Regions from separate parts of the Homo sapiens genome. Here regions 2, 3 and 4 are each linked to region 1. The links are contacts of gene promoters, found by promoter capture Hi-C in blood cells and fetal thymus (Javierre and others, 2016). All regions are on one chromosome and are shown on one strand. The core of a region is centred on a gene start or on the middle of the fragment in contact, and the rest is flanking DNA. Distances in the headings are between cores, read along the strand shown.

The links. Contacts are between HindIII fragments. The CHiCAGO score rates a contact against its expected background, and 5 or more counts as called.
Region 2: a contact is called between a fragment that was not itself captured here and the fragment with the promoter of RGS4 in region 1, in 1 of 17 cell types (endothelial precursors). The highest score is 5.8, in endothelial precursors.
Region 3: a fragment that was not itself captured here is called in contact with the fragment with the promoter of RGS4 in region 1 in 1 of 17 cell types (endothelial precursors); the score reaches 8.2 in endothelial precursors.
Region 4: a fragment that was not itself captured here is called in contact with the fragment with the promoter of RGS4 in region 1 in 1 of 17 cell types (endothelial precursors); the score reaches 5.1 in endothelial precursors.

Annotation. Positions count from the first base shown.
Region 1 is chr1:163,067,779-163,071,196 of GRCh38, reverse strand. RGS4 (regulator of G protein signaling 4) reads right to left here and starts at 1,836. Exons shown (of 5, transcript NM_005613.6): 1 at 1,669-1,836. The coding sequence starts at 1,712. The HindIII fragment of the contact is 6,604 bases long and covers 549-3,418 here.
Region 2 is chr1:163,290,959-163,294,376 of GRCh38, reverse strand. All of the region lies in intron 3 of LOC127814295 (a long non-coding RNA gene), which reads left to right. It also overlaps a transcript of RGS5 not described here. Among named protein-coding and RNA genes, the nearest start is that of NUF2, 29 kb to the left of the region's middle. The HindIII fragment of the contact is 2,695 bases long and covers 482-3,176 here.
Region 3 is chr1:162,909,450-162,912,867 of GRCh38, reverse strand. No RefSeq gene overlaps it. Among named protein-coding and RNA genes, the nearest start is that of CCDC190, 50 kb to the right of the region's middle. The HindIII fragment of the contact is 5,166 bases long and covers 1-3,418 here.
Region 4 is chr1:163,196,688-163,200,105 of GRCh38, reverse strand. All of the region lies in intron 1 of RGS5 (regulator of G protein signaling 5), which reads left to right. All of the region lies in intron 2 of RGS5-AS1 (RGS5 antisense RNA 1), which reads right to left. Among named protein-coding and RNA genes, the nearest start is that of RGS5, 4.5 kb to the left of the region's middle. The HindIII fragment of the contact is 1,628 bases long and covers 719-2,346 here.

The DNA.
Region 1 (3,418 bases), core at 587-3,086:
CAACATCCTTTTTGATTATAACAAGATACAATCCTGAATGTTAGGGTGATTCCAAGGTGATAATGTAAATATATCATGAAGTCCAAATAGAAACGAATTCATATTTCTATGTGCTGGATCCACCTGAGATCCTAGAGTTATTAATCAATGCAGGGGGTAAGTGTGCTTAGCAAGTATTCTTATAATAAAACCATAAAAATAAAAAACAAAATGACTTCAGAAGTTACTGGAGTCAGGAATTCTAGATTTGGTCCTAACTCACCCACCACCTATGTGACCTTGAGAAGGCAATGGCTCCTCTGGAGCCTCAGGCACTGGTGGTAAAGATGTTGGACTAGATGATTTGCAATTTATTGAGGAGGAAAGGGAAGAGCAGTTCATCCTGCTGACATAGAGTTTACCTCCTTAGATTAGCTGCTTAACTCTTTGAGGACAGAGCTCTAGTATTATCTTTTATCTGTTTTGCAAAATATTTACCAGAGCATAACTTTCTCCTGACACTCTTGTATTTTTGTACGGTTCATTTCATATGCAAGTTAAGTGAAGCTTGAAGTAATTTGCTCCACTCCATTCAGAAAATTAAGCGTGAAGGTCAGAGGAACTTATTTCATAGATACTCTCTGCCAGACCCTCCTGCTTCATTTTAAAGAAGCCATCGATACTTCCATACTCCTGAATGACAGAATATTTGGAAAGTAAATGTTTTAATAGTACATAAAAAATTATGTTTTCTGAGATTATTTCCAAAATAAAATTTGTGGTAATTTCTATTTGCAGTGCGATAAGAAAGCAGGTAGTATACCTTTAGGTTGACTTTTTACCTTTGACTGCAAGATTAAGTAATGTAATATGCACTCATTTTGTGTTTAATTTTCAACTGGCTAATATATGATCTTTCTCTGAATGCATTTCTTTATACCTTTTTTGAACAAACCAAAAACAAATGAATAGCTGTATGTCTGTAAGGTCTTTTAAAAAAATCAAGGGAGTATATTAACAAAACAATGTCTTTAAGATGAGATCTTCTACAAAACTATTAACTGATTTGTAATGATCAATATTTCTCAACCAAACTCATATGAGACACTTCAAGAACTAGAGATGGGGCAGAGAGATAAGGAAGATCTGGCTTTAAAACTCATATCTCATTGTAACATTTGCTTATAAGAACATAGAGAGTGAAAGTTACTGCACCACCACACGGAAAGCATAGTGCCTTTCTGATGATGGAGCCAAACCTCATTCTGGGGTACCTTTCCTGAAACAAGTTGTAGCATACAATCAGAAAGCCCAGAGCCAGGCTTCTATGTACTCCAGGGATGCTCAAATAGCAGTAGTAATCACAGATGGAGATATTACAGATCACTGTACATAGCCTCAAACCTCATCTCGCTTCTTAATTAAAACTAGCTTTCTTAGACCTGGCTTAAAGAATAGAACAGTTCTCAAAACTGAGGTCACACAAAACAACACATAAGGGCTGAAATTTGGGGAGCACATGTCTTAAGTCACAATATCTAGCTAGTCTTGGAGGAAAGTTAGAAAGTCGTGCTCTCCTGACCACACTGTTTCTAATTGCACAGAACTAGGTTAGTAAGTACAACATGTAAATAACTGAGAAAGTCTAGCCAAAAGTTTAATATGGTTAATGGCTGAAAGCAATCTTACCTCCTCAAGCAAGAAGCCGGCAGACCTGCAAGCCCTTTGCACATCTTATTTAACAGCTTGGAATTCGCAAGCAGGAAAGAAATGCGGCAGGAGGAGCTGTGGCTTCGGCTTTGAGCGTACTTTGCCTCTTCTCCGGTAAAGATATTGTCAGAATCCTCTGAGCGTCTTCCTGCTAAGCCTGTAGGGGTCTCTTTTATAGCCCAGCTACGACCGTCCAGCCAATCAGACGACCGCTCTGCAGTACCAGCTCCTCTGTCTCCCTCTGCCTCTCCAGCCCCTGAAAGAGATGAGGAAGAAAAGACTGACGCATCAGCAATGTTAAGTGAACGAGCAGAGAAAATCCTTCTGAAAAGTAGGGATATGGGAAAAAATGTACTCAATGTCTCCACCAATGTCAGAGGTTTAGAATTTCTAGAAAAGGAAAAAAAGTGTACAATGCTGCAAAATATAGTTTTTATTCATATGCCTGTAAAAAAAAAATATCAAGGAAGTTGCTTCCTGGAAGGAAAAGTACCAGCAGGAATTCTGGAGCTTACTTAGGAGCTGACTCCCAATGCCTTTCCTCTTTTGGATTAGAAGCATCATATTATACATGGTCCAAGATCTGATCCTCACGATTTCCAAAAGGGAGCTGGCAGGATCATCGTCTCCACGCAGTGATTTGCGGAAGTTGCCTTGGTTGTTATGCAAACAAGAAGGTGGAGAGAAATAGCTGGATGACAGACAGTTATAAGCCCGGCAGCATACAGAAACTACCCTAGGAAAAATAGATTTGCTATATCTGTAATCAACCTGACTGAGGAATACTTTTCTAGAAATCTTGGTAACAACAGAATTCAGCCTAGCACTGACAGTTTCTCCTTCACATGCCTGCGTCCTGTAAAAAGTCTAAACCGGCAGCTCGAGGACCAAAGGAGGGAGTAGATGAGCAAATATACACAGCAATTCTTATATCAAATGGGTTTATGTCTTATGTAATTCTAAGTCTCCAAACTGATATTTCAAAAGATAAAGAAAGAGAGATGTAGAGAGAAAGAGAGAGAGCAGGCAGAAAAATATGTAGTTTGCTTTGCGTATCACCAGCCTTCAAACTGATTGTAAGAATATTAAGCCCTATAGGTGTTTCTGAACACCTAGACAATCAGTATCTTTTACATACAATATCATGAACTGAAATGCCTGCATGGACAGAATCATTCAGGTGTTTCACATCTTATAGCCATAAACCAAATACCTACACCAGAGTTACAGAGGAAAGCTATAAGTGGAAGAAGGGAATTAATTGCTAGATCTGACCAAAACAGCTTTCATTTAGAAAGCAGATAGGTTCCTGATCATAGGCTACAGTGAGCTATACTTTATATATAAGAAACAGAGGCATCAAATAGTTTAGGTGGAAGAGATGAAAAATAGTTGGGTTCCAGTGAGATGCAAAATACCAAAAATATAGAAAGAATGGCACAAAGCAATGCCCATATGTGGCCCTACCCAATACGTGCCCTTGAACATCCCACACTGCCCCCACTACCAACACGTTCCATGACTAGCAGAGCAAGGAGACAGCAGACAAATGTAAAGTGGTGGAGGGACCATAATCTACAGAAGATGCATTTAAATTATAGGAAAAAGTCTCTAGCCGCCCATAAGAGGGCATTTATTGGATTAGCTACTGGGCAACTTTTCCTTGAATTATAACATAGAACAAATGAATGTTGACAGCCATCCTTGATGGTGGTGTGGAAGGAACTGA
Region 2 (3,418 bases), core at 580-3,079, 220 kb before region 1:
AAGCCCCAGACTTTGGCAGCTCCCATGTGGTGTTGGGCCTGTGGGTACACAGAAGACAAGAGCTGAGCTTTGGGAGCCTCTGCCTAGATTTCAAAGGATGTATGGAAACACCTGGATATCCTGACAGAAGTCTGCTGCAGGGGCAGCCCTCATGGAGAACCTCTACTAGGGCAATGCAGAAAGGAAATGGGGGGTTGGAGTCCCCACACAGAGTCCCCACTGGGGCACTGCCTAGTGGAGCTGTGAAAAGAAGGCCACCATCCTCCAGCCCCCAGAATGGTAGATCCACTGACATCTTGCCCTGTACACCTGAAAAAGCCACAGGCACTCAATGCCAGCCCATGGAAAGCAGCTGTGGGGGCTATACTCTGCAGAGCCACAGAGGCAGAGCTGCCCAAGGCCTTGGGAGGCCACTCCTTGTATCACTGTGCCCTGGATGTGAGACATGGAGCCAAAGGAGATTATTTTGGAGCTTTAAGCTTTAATGAGTGCCCTGCCAGGTTTCAGACTTATAAACAAAGTGCCTGTGGCCCCTTTGTTTTGGCCAGTTTTACCTATTTGGAACAGAAACATTTACCCAATGTCTGTACCTCCATTGTATCTTGGAAGTAGCTAATTTGTTTTTGATTTTACAGGCTCGTAGTTGGAAGGGACTTCCCTTATCTCTGATGAGACTTTGGACTTAGACTTTTGGGTTAATGCTGGAATGAGTTAAGACTTTGGCAGGCTGTTGGGAAGGCATAATTGTGTTTTGAAATGTGAAAAGGACATGAGATTTGGGAGGGGCCAGGGGCAGAATGATATGGTTTGTCTCTGTGTCCCCACCCAAATCTCATCTCAAATTGTAATTCAAATTTTAACCCCTAAGTGTCAAGGAAGGGACCTGGTGGGAGGTTACTGGATCATGGGGACAGTTTCCCCTTTGCTGTTATCATGATAGTGAGTTCTCACAAGATCTGATAGTTTAAAAGTGTGGCACTTCCTCCCCTCGCTCTTTCTCCTGCCACCATGTCAGATGTGCCTTGCTTCTCCTTCATCTTCTGGAATGATTGTAAGTTTCCTGAGGACTTCCCAGTCATGTGGAACTGTGAGTCAATTAAGCCTCTTTTATTTATAAATACCCAGTCTTAGGTAGTTCTTTATAGCAGTGTGAAAATGAACAAATACACCTTGCTTACACCACATACAAAACTCAACCTGAGATGGATTAAAGACTTAAATGTAAAACTCCAAACTATAAAAACCGTAGAAGACAACCCAGGCAATACCATTCAGGCATAGACAGTGGCAAAGATTTCTTGATGAAGACACCAAAAGCAATTACAACAAAGCAAAAATTGACAAATGGGATCTAATTAAACTAAAGAGCTTCTGCACAGCAAAGGAAACTATCAACAGAGTAAACAGACAACCTACAGAATAGGAGAAAATTTTTGCAATCTATCCATTCGACAAAGGTCTAATATCCAGCATCCATAAGGAACTTAAACAAATTTACCAGAAAACCAAAAAACCCCATTAAAAAGTGAGCAAAGGACATGAACAAAAACATCTCAAAAGAAGACATACATGCAGCCAACAAACACATGAAGAAAAGCTCAATACCACTGATCATTAGAGAAATGCCAATCAAAAGCACATTGAGATACCATCTCACACCAGTCAGGATGGCTATTACTAAAAAGCCAAAAAACAGCAGATGTTGGTGAGGTTGTGGAGAAAAACAAATGCTTTTACATTGTTCTTGGGAGTGTAAATTAGTTCAACCATGGTAGAAAACAGTGTGGTGACTTCTTAAAGACCTAGAGGCATAAATACCATTTGACCCAGCAATCCCATTACTGGTATATACCCAAAGGAATATAAATCATTCTATTATAAAGATGCATGCATGTGTGTGTTCATTGCATCACTATTCACAATAGCAAAAACATGGAATCAACCTAAATGCCCATCAATGATAGACTGGATAAAGAAAATGTGGTACATATACACCACGGAATACTATGCAGCCATGAAAAGGAATGAGATCATGTCTTTTGCAGGGACATGGATGGAGTTGGAGGCCATTATTCTTAGTAAACTAACGCAAGAACAGAAAACCAAATACCACATGTTCTCACTTACAAGTGGGAGCTAAATGATGAGAATGCATGGATATATGTTGGAGAACAGTACACACTGGGGCCTGTCAGAGGGTGGGGGGTAGAAGAGAGAGAAGATAAGGTAGAGTAGCTAATGGATGCTCGGCTTAATACCTGGGTGATGGGATGATCTGTGCAGCAAACCATCATGGCACATGTTTACCTGTGTAACAAGGCTGCACATCCTTCATATGTACCCCTGAACTTAAAAGTTGAAAATTAAAAAAAAAATCATTTCTATTTGGGCTTGAAAAGTAATTATATTGGCACATCTATGCCTTTTATCCCAACGAGTTCTTCCTGCCCACTGCACAAACAGAATCAATTGCCACAGAGATCATGTCATTGCAGTGAAGAAAAATTTAATTAACACAAGTCTGGCCACACCGCTCAGGAAATGGAGTTATTACTCAAATCAATCTCCTCAAAGACTTGGAGAGTTTTTCAAAGACAGCTTGGTGAGCAAGTGGCTAGGCTATGGGGAGTGCTGATTGGTTGGGTCAGAGATGAAATCATAGGGAGTCTAAGCTGGCCTCTTTCACTGAGCCACTTCTGGGTGGGGCCACAGGAGTGGTTGGTGCATCCAGATGGAACTATCGGTTGTCAGACATGCAAAAAAACTGAAATGCTATCTCAAAAGGCCAATCTTAGATTCTATAATAGTGATGTTACCTGCTGAAGTAATTGGGGAAGTTGCATATCTTGTGACCTCTAGAATCATGGCCGGCTGTCATTTATATCTACACATTAGCAGAATTCTGGCTCCTCTCCCTTCCTAGCCTGGTAGTCTGTCATTAACTTCACAAAGGTGGTTGAGTTTGGGGTAAGTACTATTACCACTTAAACTATAAACTAAATGGCTCCCAAAGTTAGCTTGCCATAAACCCAGGAATACTTAAGGGCAGCTTGAAGGGTAAAGGCATGATGGGGTTGGCTAGATAGATACCCCCCTGCCCGCCGCCATAATTTTCTCACTGTTACAATTTTTGCAAACGCAAAACTTCACAACACATTAAATAAAATAAGGAAGCTTCATTAGAGATTTGACATGAAGTAGCAGAGAGTTTTTATGATTCTACAGAGAACCTTTTTTTTTTTTTTAATAAGTGGGCTTATGTATCTTTCTTAGAATGGATGCCCTGAAATGATGAAACTATCTGCAGTACTGGGGATTCACATGATATAAACAAAATCTTTTGATTCAGTTAATTAAACCAGTAAAGTCTATGTAGTAGGAGAACAGTTTGACTAAACTGTTCTGTTATTTTAAATTA
Region 3 (3,418 bases), core at 452-2,951, 160 kb after region 1:
AACCCTGTCTCTACTAAAAATACAAAAATTAGCCAGGTGTGGTGGCAGGAGCCTATAATCCCAGCTACTCAAAAAGCTGAGGCAGAAGAATTGCTTGAACGTGGGAGGTGGAGATTGCAGTGGGCCAAGATCACACCTGCCACTGTACTCCAGCCTGTGTGACAGTGAGACTCTGTCTCAAAAAAAAGAAGAAGAAAGAAACATCTACTACATGGGCTCAACAGCAAATCTGAGCAGCCAGAAGAAAAAAAAACAAAAAAACAATTAACTTGAAGATGGGTCAATTGAGATTAACCAGTCTGAAGAACAGGAAAAAAAGAATAAGGAAAATGAACAGTCTAAGAAACCTGTGGGATAGCATCAAGTTCATTGACATACACAAAAGAAGAGCAGAACGAAAAAAGGAAAGAAAGGATATCTGAAGAAATAATGGCTGAAAACTTCCCAGATTTTGATGAAAACCATTAATCTACACATCCAAGAAACTCAACATACTCCAAATAAGATAAACATCAAGGAATCCATATGTCATAATCAAACTGTCAAATGACTGAAATAATTTTGAAAGCAGCAAGAGAGAAGTGACTTTTCACATACACAAGAGATTCTCAATAAGATTAACAACTGATTTCTCATCAGAAACAATGGGGAATAGAAGGCAATGAGATGACATATTCAAAGTGCTGACAGATTTTTAAAAAAAAAAAAGACAAAACTATTAAACAGGAACTCTATATCCAGCAGACCAGTAAAGGTGTTTTTCAAAAATGCAGGAGAAATTAAAACATTTGTAAATAAATAAAAACAAGAGAATTTATTATTAGCACACCTGCCCTACCAAAAAACACTGAAGTGTTTCCTTTAGGCTGAAATGAGAGGATGCTAGACAGTAGCTTGTTTGTTTGTTTGTTTGTTTGTTTGTTTGTTTGTTTTTCCCCAAGACTGAGTCTTGCTCTGTTGCCCAGGCTGGAGTGCAGTGGCATGATCTCTGCTCACTGCAACCTTCACCTCCCAGGTTCAAGCAATTCTCCTGCCTCAGCCTCCTAAGTAGCTGGAATTACAGAGACCTGCCACCACGCCAGGCTAATTTTTGTATTTTTAGTAGAGTTGGGGTTTCACCATGTTAGCCAGGCTGGTCTCGAACCCCTGACCTCATGATCTGCCCACCTCAGCCTTCAAAAGTGCTGGGATTACAGGCGTGAGCCACTGCGCCCGGCTGACAGTAGTTTTAATCCACATGCAGAAATAAAATACTAGTAAGGTAACTACATAAGCAAATATAAAACACAGTATAAGTCTATCTTTTGTTTGTAGCTCTTTTTTCTTCCATTTGACTTAAAAGTCAATTGCGTAAAGAAATAATTATAAATCTATACTGACAGTCAAATAATACATAAAAATACAAATTGTAGAACAATAACATCACAAAGGAACAAGGAGAGATTGGAGCTATATATATTATATACTGTCTCAACTAAATTGGTATTAATCCAAACTAAATTATTAAAAAGAATATGTTCATTGTAATCCCCAGGACAACCACTAAGAGAATAACTCAAAAAAATAGTAAACATTGATAAGGGAATTAAAATGGTACACTAGAAAGTATCTAGTTAATAGAAAAGAAGACAGTAATGGAGTAACAAACAAAAAAAGACATGTAGAAAATGAAGACTGTCAGATTTAAATCCTTTACCAGTAACTATATAAACTATAATGCATTAATCATAATTAATAAGTATAATAATTATATAAAATATAAATGCATTAAGCACTTAAAAGAGATTGAAAGAGATTGGCAGAACAAATTTTTAAATGATTCAACTATTTGTTGTCTAGAGAAAAACACTTCAGATTCAGAGACACAAATAGGTTGAAAGTAAAAGACTCAAAAAAGATGTATCATACAACAAGTAATCAAAAGAGAGTAGAGTGACTGAGCTAATCCAAACAAAATAGACTTTAAGAAAAAATTGTTACTGAAGACTTTCTTCCTCCTGACACCAGATATGTAGTCTTTTGCAATAACACTTCTTCAACTCTCAAACAACTAAGTGTCCTATAATTCAATTTAGTTCTGACACCAACTGCACAGAATTAGCATTAGACTTCACAGGTTTGAGAGCTCAGTCCCACAAAACTGCCCTCACTTTAGACACTAGCCATAGATCCTCAGATTACCCAGACTTCTTTCTGACATGGCTACAAATCTGGGGTTCCTCATAACCTCCCCCATGGCCTCACATTCAGCTCAGTTTTGATAATTTGCCAGAACAACTCACAGAACTCAGTAAAGTGTTTTTACTTGCTATTCACCAATTATTACAAAGGAGACACATCGGAACAAAGAATACAACTTTTTGAGGCATGAAAGAGAAACACAGGACAGGGTATGGAGAGGGGAGGCACAGAGCTTCCATGCCACACTGGGCATGCAAATTTCTCAGCTTCTTGATGTGTTCACTAATCTGGAAACTCTCTGAACCTCATCATTTAGAATAGCTTATGGAGGTTTCATTACATAGGCACGACTGATTAAATCATAGTCTGTGATTAAATTGCTATTGATGATTAACTCAGTCTCTAGTCCTTCTTTTCTCCCTGGAGTTTGGAGTATGGGGCTGAAACTTCTAAAACTTGGCTTTTCTGGAGACCAGCTCCCTTCCTGAAGCTATCTAGTGGCCTTCCAAGAAGAGTCACCTCATTAGAACAAAAGACAGTTCAAAATCCATATCGCTTAAAGAATTCCAAGAGTCTTAGAAGCTCTGTGCCAGAAACTGGGGACAAAGGCTAAACATCTTTCTTATTATGCCACAGGGACCCTTTATAATAATAAAAATCAACTCATCAAGTGGAGATAACAATCATAAACACCAATAAACTTAGCTACTGTAGCAAAAACTATAGAATTAAAGAGCAAAATAGGCACAATTCAATGATAATAGATATTTGAATACCCCACTTTCTTTTTTTTTTTTTTTTTTTGAGATGGAGTGTCACTCTGGCACCCAGGCTGGAGTGCAGTGGCACGTTCTCAGCTCACTGCAAGCTCCACCTCCCAGGTTCACACCATTCTCCTGCCTCAGCCTCCCAAGTAGCTGGGACTACAGGCGCCCACTACCACGCCCGGCTAATTTTTTGTATTTTTAGTAGAGACGGGGTTTCACCGTGTTAGCCAGGATGGTCTTGATCTCCTGACCTCGTGATCCGCCCACCTCAGCCTCCTAAAGTGCAGGGATTACAGGCGTGAGCCACCACGCCGGGCCTGAATACCCCACTTTCAATAACGGATAGAACAAGCAGAAAGAAAACCAACAAGGAAATAGAATACTTGAACACTTACATAAACCAACAAGACCTAATAGACATCTACTGAGCACTCCACCCAACAACGGCAGAACATACAATCTCCTCAAGT
Region 4 (3,418 bases), core at 283-2,782, 130 kb before region 1:
TGGATTCATTGTTCTCTAACATGTTTTCGAGTTCTAACCTAATGTAAACGAAGTGAGGTACACTTAGTCTCAATGACTACTAAGAGATGTGATTAAAGGAAAATTTTCCTATTTTTCTATAAAAGTTTGAGAGCAGGTGGGGCATGGTGGCTCATGCCTATAATCCTCGCACTTTGGGAGGCTAAGGCAGGAAGATCCCTTGAGGACAGGAGTTTGAGGCTGCAGTGAGTCATATTGCACCACTGTACCCCAACCTGGGTAACAGAGCAAGAGCCTGTCTCTAAAAATCAATTAATTAATTAATTTAACATAAAAATAAAGTTTGGGAGGAATGAAGAATCAAATAATGAAAAATAATCAAGGACCCAGCCCTGTGCTGAAACCACTGGGCCATGGCAGAAGCAACCTGCTCAGTGATTCTAATGCTGATTTATAAGAAAGCAATTATAAGAATAATTTGCTTCCTGTAAGGGGAATTGTTTTTGACAGCAACTCTTTATTAGCAAAGAATATAAAATAAACTTTTTTTTAAACAACAAAAAGAGAAGTTTTTTTCCATAAGATTAAAGGGTGGAATATATATAATGGGTAAGGATATCCAAAAATCTGCCGCATAAAGTAAGAAAATTTCAACAATTAACAAAGATTAACTTTTCCATGACATGTAAGGAGAAATCTAATCCTAGAAAATATTCCTTTCTGAATGTCCAGGGAAGCTTTCAGCCAAAGTCAACTTTGATATATTTGTATAAACTATTCTTTATTTATTTAGATTTTTAAGACTATTGCTTATTGAAATTTTAAGTAGGACTCGCATACTTTTATATGTTTAAAGAGGCAAATAATTCAAACATTTGGGCAATGAATAACCATAAGCACAGAGTTTCTACCCTCTGGCATATTGAAACCTGTACTATATGGGTGAGAATCTTATACTGTCAATGAAAAAGAAAAGAGTCGCGTCAATTTAATACCTTATTTTTACCCATGATTTTCAAGTTTGAATTTTAGGCTTCTTTTGAAAATTTATTTTATTTTCAGAGTCTGTTGAATTTCTCTAAACAAGTTTAAATTTTAAAGTAAATATTGCTCTTTGGGAAAAGATGAATGTATTATGAAACAAAAAATGTTACTATTGGCCAGGCACATTACTCCTGCCTGTAATCCCAGCACTTTGGGAGGCCAAGGTGGGAGGATCACTTGAGGCCAGGAGTTTAAGGGCAGCCTGGGCAACACAGGGAGACCCTGTCTCTAAAAACAAACAAACAAACAACAACAAAAAATAAATAAATAAAAACACCACAAATATTAGCCAGGCACAGTGGATAGCACCTGTAGTGCCAGCTATTCAGGAGCTGAGGTGAGAGGACTGCTTGAGCCCAGGAGTCTGAGGCTATAGTGAGCTATGATTGCTACTATTGCACTCCAGCCTGGGTGCAGAGTGAGACCCCATCTCTGAAAAAAGAGGATTATTTTAAAAAACTGATAATACTAATAATTGAACTGGTTGCTTTATGTTATGATGACAACTTTGATTTTTAGGCTTAAAACTGTGTGCTTATGGTTATTCATTGCCCAAAAGTTTGGATTATTTGTTTCTTTAAATATATAAAAGTATATGAGGCCTCCTTAAAATTTTAATGAGCAATAGTCTCAAAAATCTAAATATCATCATAATATAAAGGAACCAGTGCAGTTATTAGTATTTTAAAGAGCTACAAGCCCTTTGCTACTCTGGGTGACTGGCATAGATCTGATTTCTGTTTCAGACTGAGAAGGGCTAAGGGTATAATGTGTTTAATCCACAGTTCACACAGGGGCTTTTGGCCATCTCAAGGGTGTGTCAATGCTAGGAATTTCAGAAGCCATAGGAAGTAAATGGGAAAGGTAATTTTCAAACATTTATTATTTTTAAATTTATTTTAAATTTTTGTTTTTAAAAATTTTGTTTTTAAAATGTATTATTATTTTACAAAACAATCATTTTTTTCCCCATGTTCTCTGATTTATGTGGGTCAAGTGTGGACAATTTAGAATAGAAAGGCAGCTAATAAGCAGGACTACTAATGAACTAATCTGAGGTTGTTAAACCTTTAAAAGCACTAGAGTGAGTCAAGGTTCCTGGGTTTTCAGGATTAATAAATTCAAAGGCATAAGCACATCCTTGGGCTAATTGTAGAGAAAAGGCAAGCACCAAGTGAATTAAAGACTGGCAATTAGCTTGAACAACTGATAGCTCAATTGGAATGAATTGAGGACCATCAAAGAAACCTGAGAGAGGTCCTAGCAGAGCTTCTGGTTGGGTTTAGGATCATGCTTGCTGAGAATAAGTATGAATTTCAAGCTTACTATACCTGATATTCTAGAGATGTCATTGAAAGCATTGTAGTGAAACTTTAGAATGTTAAGAAAGTGAATGAACTATTTAATAAAATTTGGAGGGGGATCACTAAGAAAAACATTTATTTTGATTCCTACTGATGAAACAATATCAGTGATTTCTCTAGATTGCCTTTCAAACCTGTGTACTTGCCTTAGGCATATGGATGAAAGACCCATGCCCTGCTCCCATGGAAATTTAAGCCCAGTTAGGGAGATAAATAAGAAAAAATTAATGCTCAGTGTTGCAATCCACTACGAAGGAATATATCCATAAAGTGCCAAGAAGCACAGAAGTTGGGGTGGTAGGCGGGGCCCCTAGAGCTTTTAGTGGGCAGGGAAGAATTTACAAGGTTATACGGATGATGCTTGAAGAAAGTCTAAGAGGACAGAGGAGTTAGCCAGGTCTAGACAGGAAGAGGAGAGAGAAGGAAGGCCATCTAGGTGAAGGGGACAGGCCTGTGTGTGCAGAGACCCAGAGATGGGCGGGCACAGCCAATTTGGCTGATGTTGTGACATCTATGTACAACCTGTATTATCTCTCAGAGGCCAGCAAGGAGGGAAACCGCTGAGTTTCTAACCACAGTTAACCTCCTGGGCAGCAAGTCCTGCATATGGTTCTCTGGGAACTTCTCCAGTGCTCATCTGTTCCCAACTCTGAGGATGGAAGAGATTTATTCAGGGGAAAGATAGTCCTCCCCTTCACCTAAATGATTTTATTACTAAAAGGATAGACTGTATTTGGTATAGTAGACACCAAATAAACATTTTGTTGAAGGAATACATGAATGAAGTTACAGCAAATAGAGACAAGAGCACTTCTAGGACAGCTTGGTATTTCCTCTGCTTTCCTTGGGTATTGGGGAGACCAAGAACAGTATCAGTGTTGACATTTTAGGCCACAATCGGAAAAAGAGTGTGTGTTGCTAAATAAAGAGAGGTGCCTGCTATGGGAGAAGGGGAGTGGGGATTAGGAGAAAAAGAAAAGTGAAGGAGACTGTCTGCATTTCTATAATGAGGAAAGCCTTGTTAAAGAGGT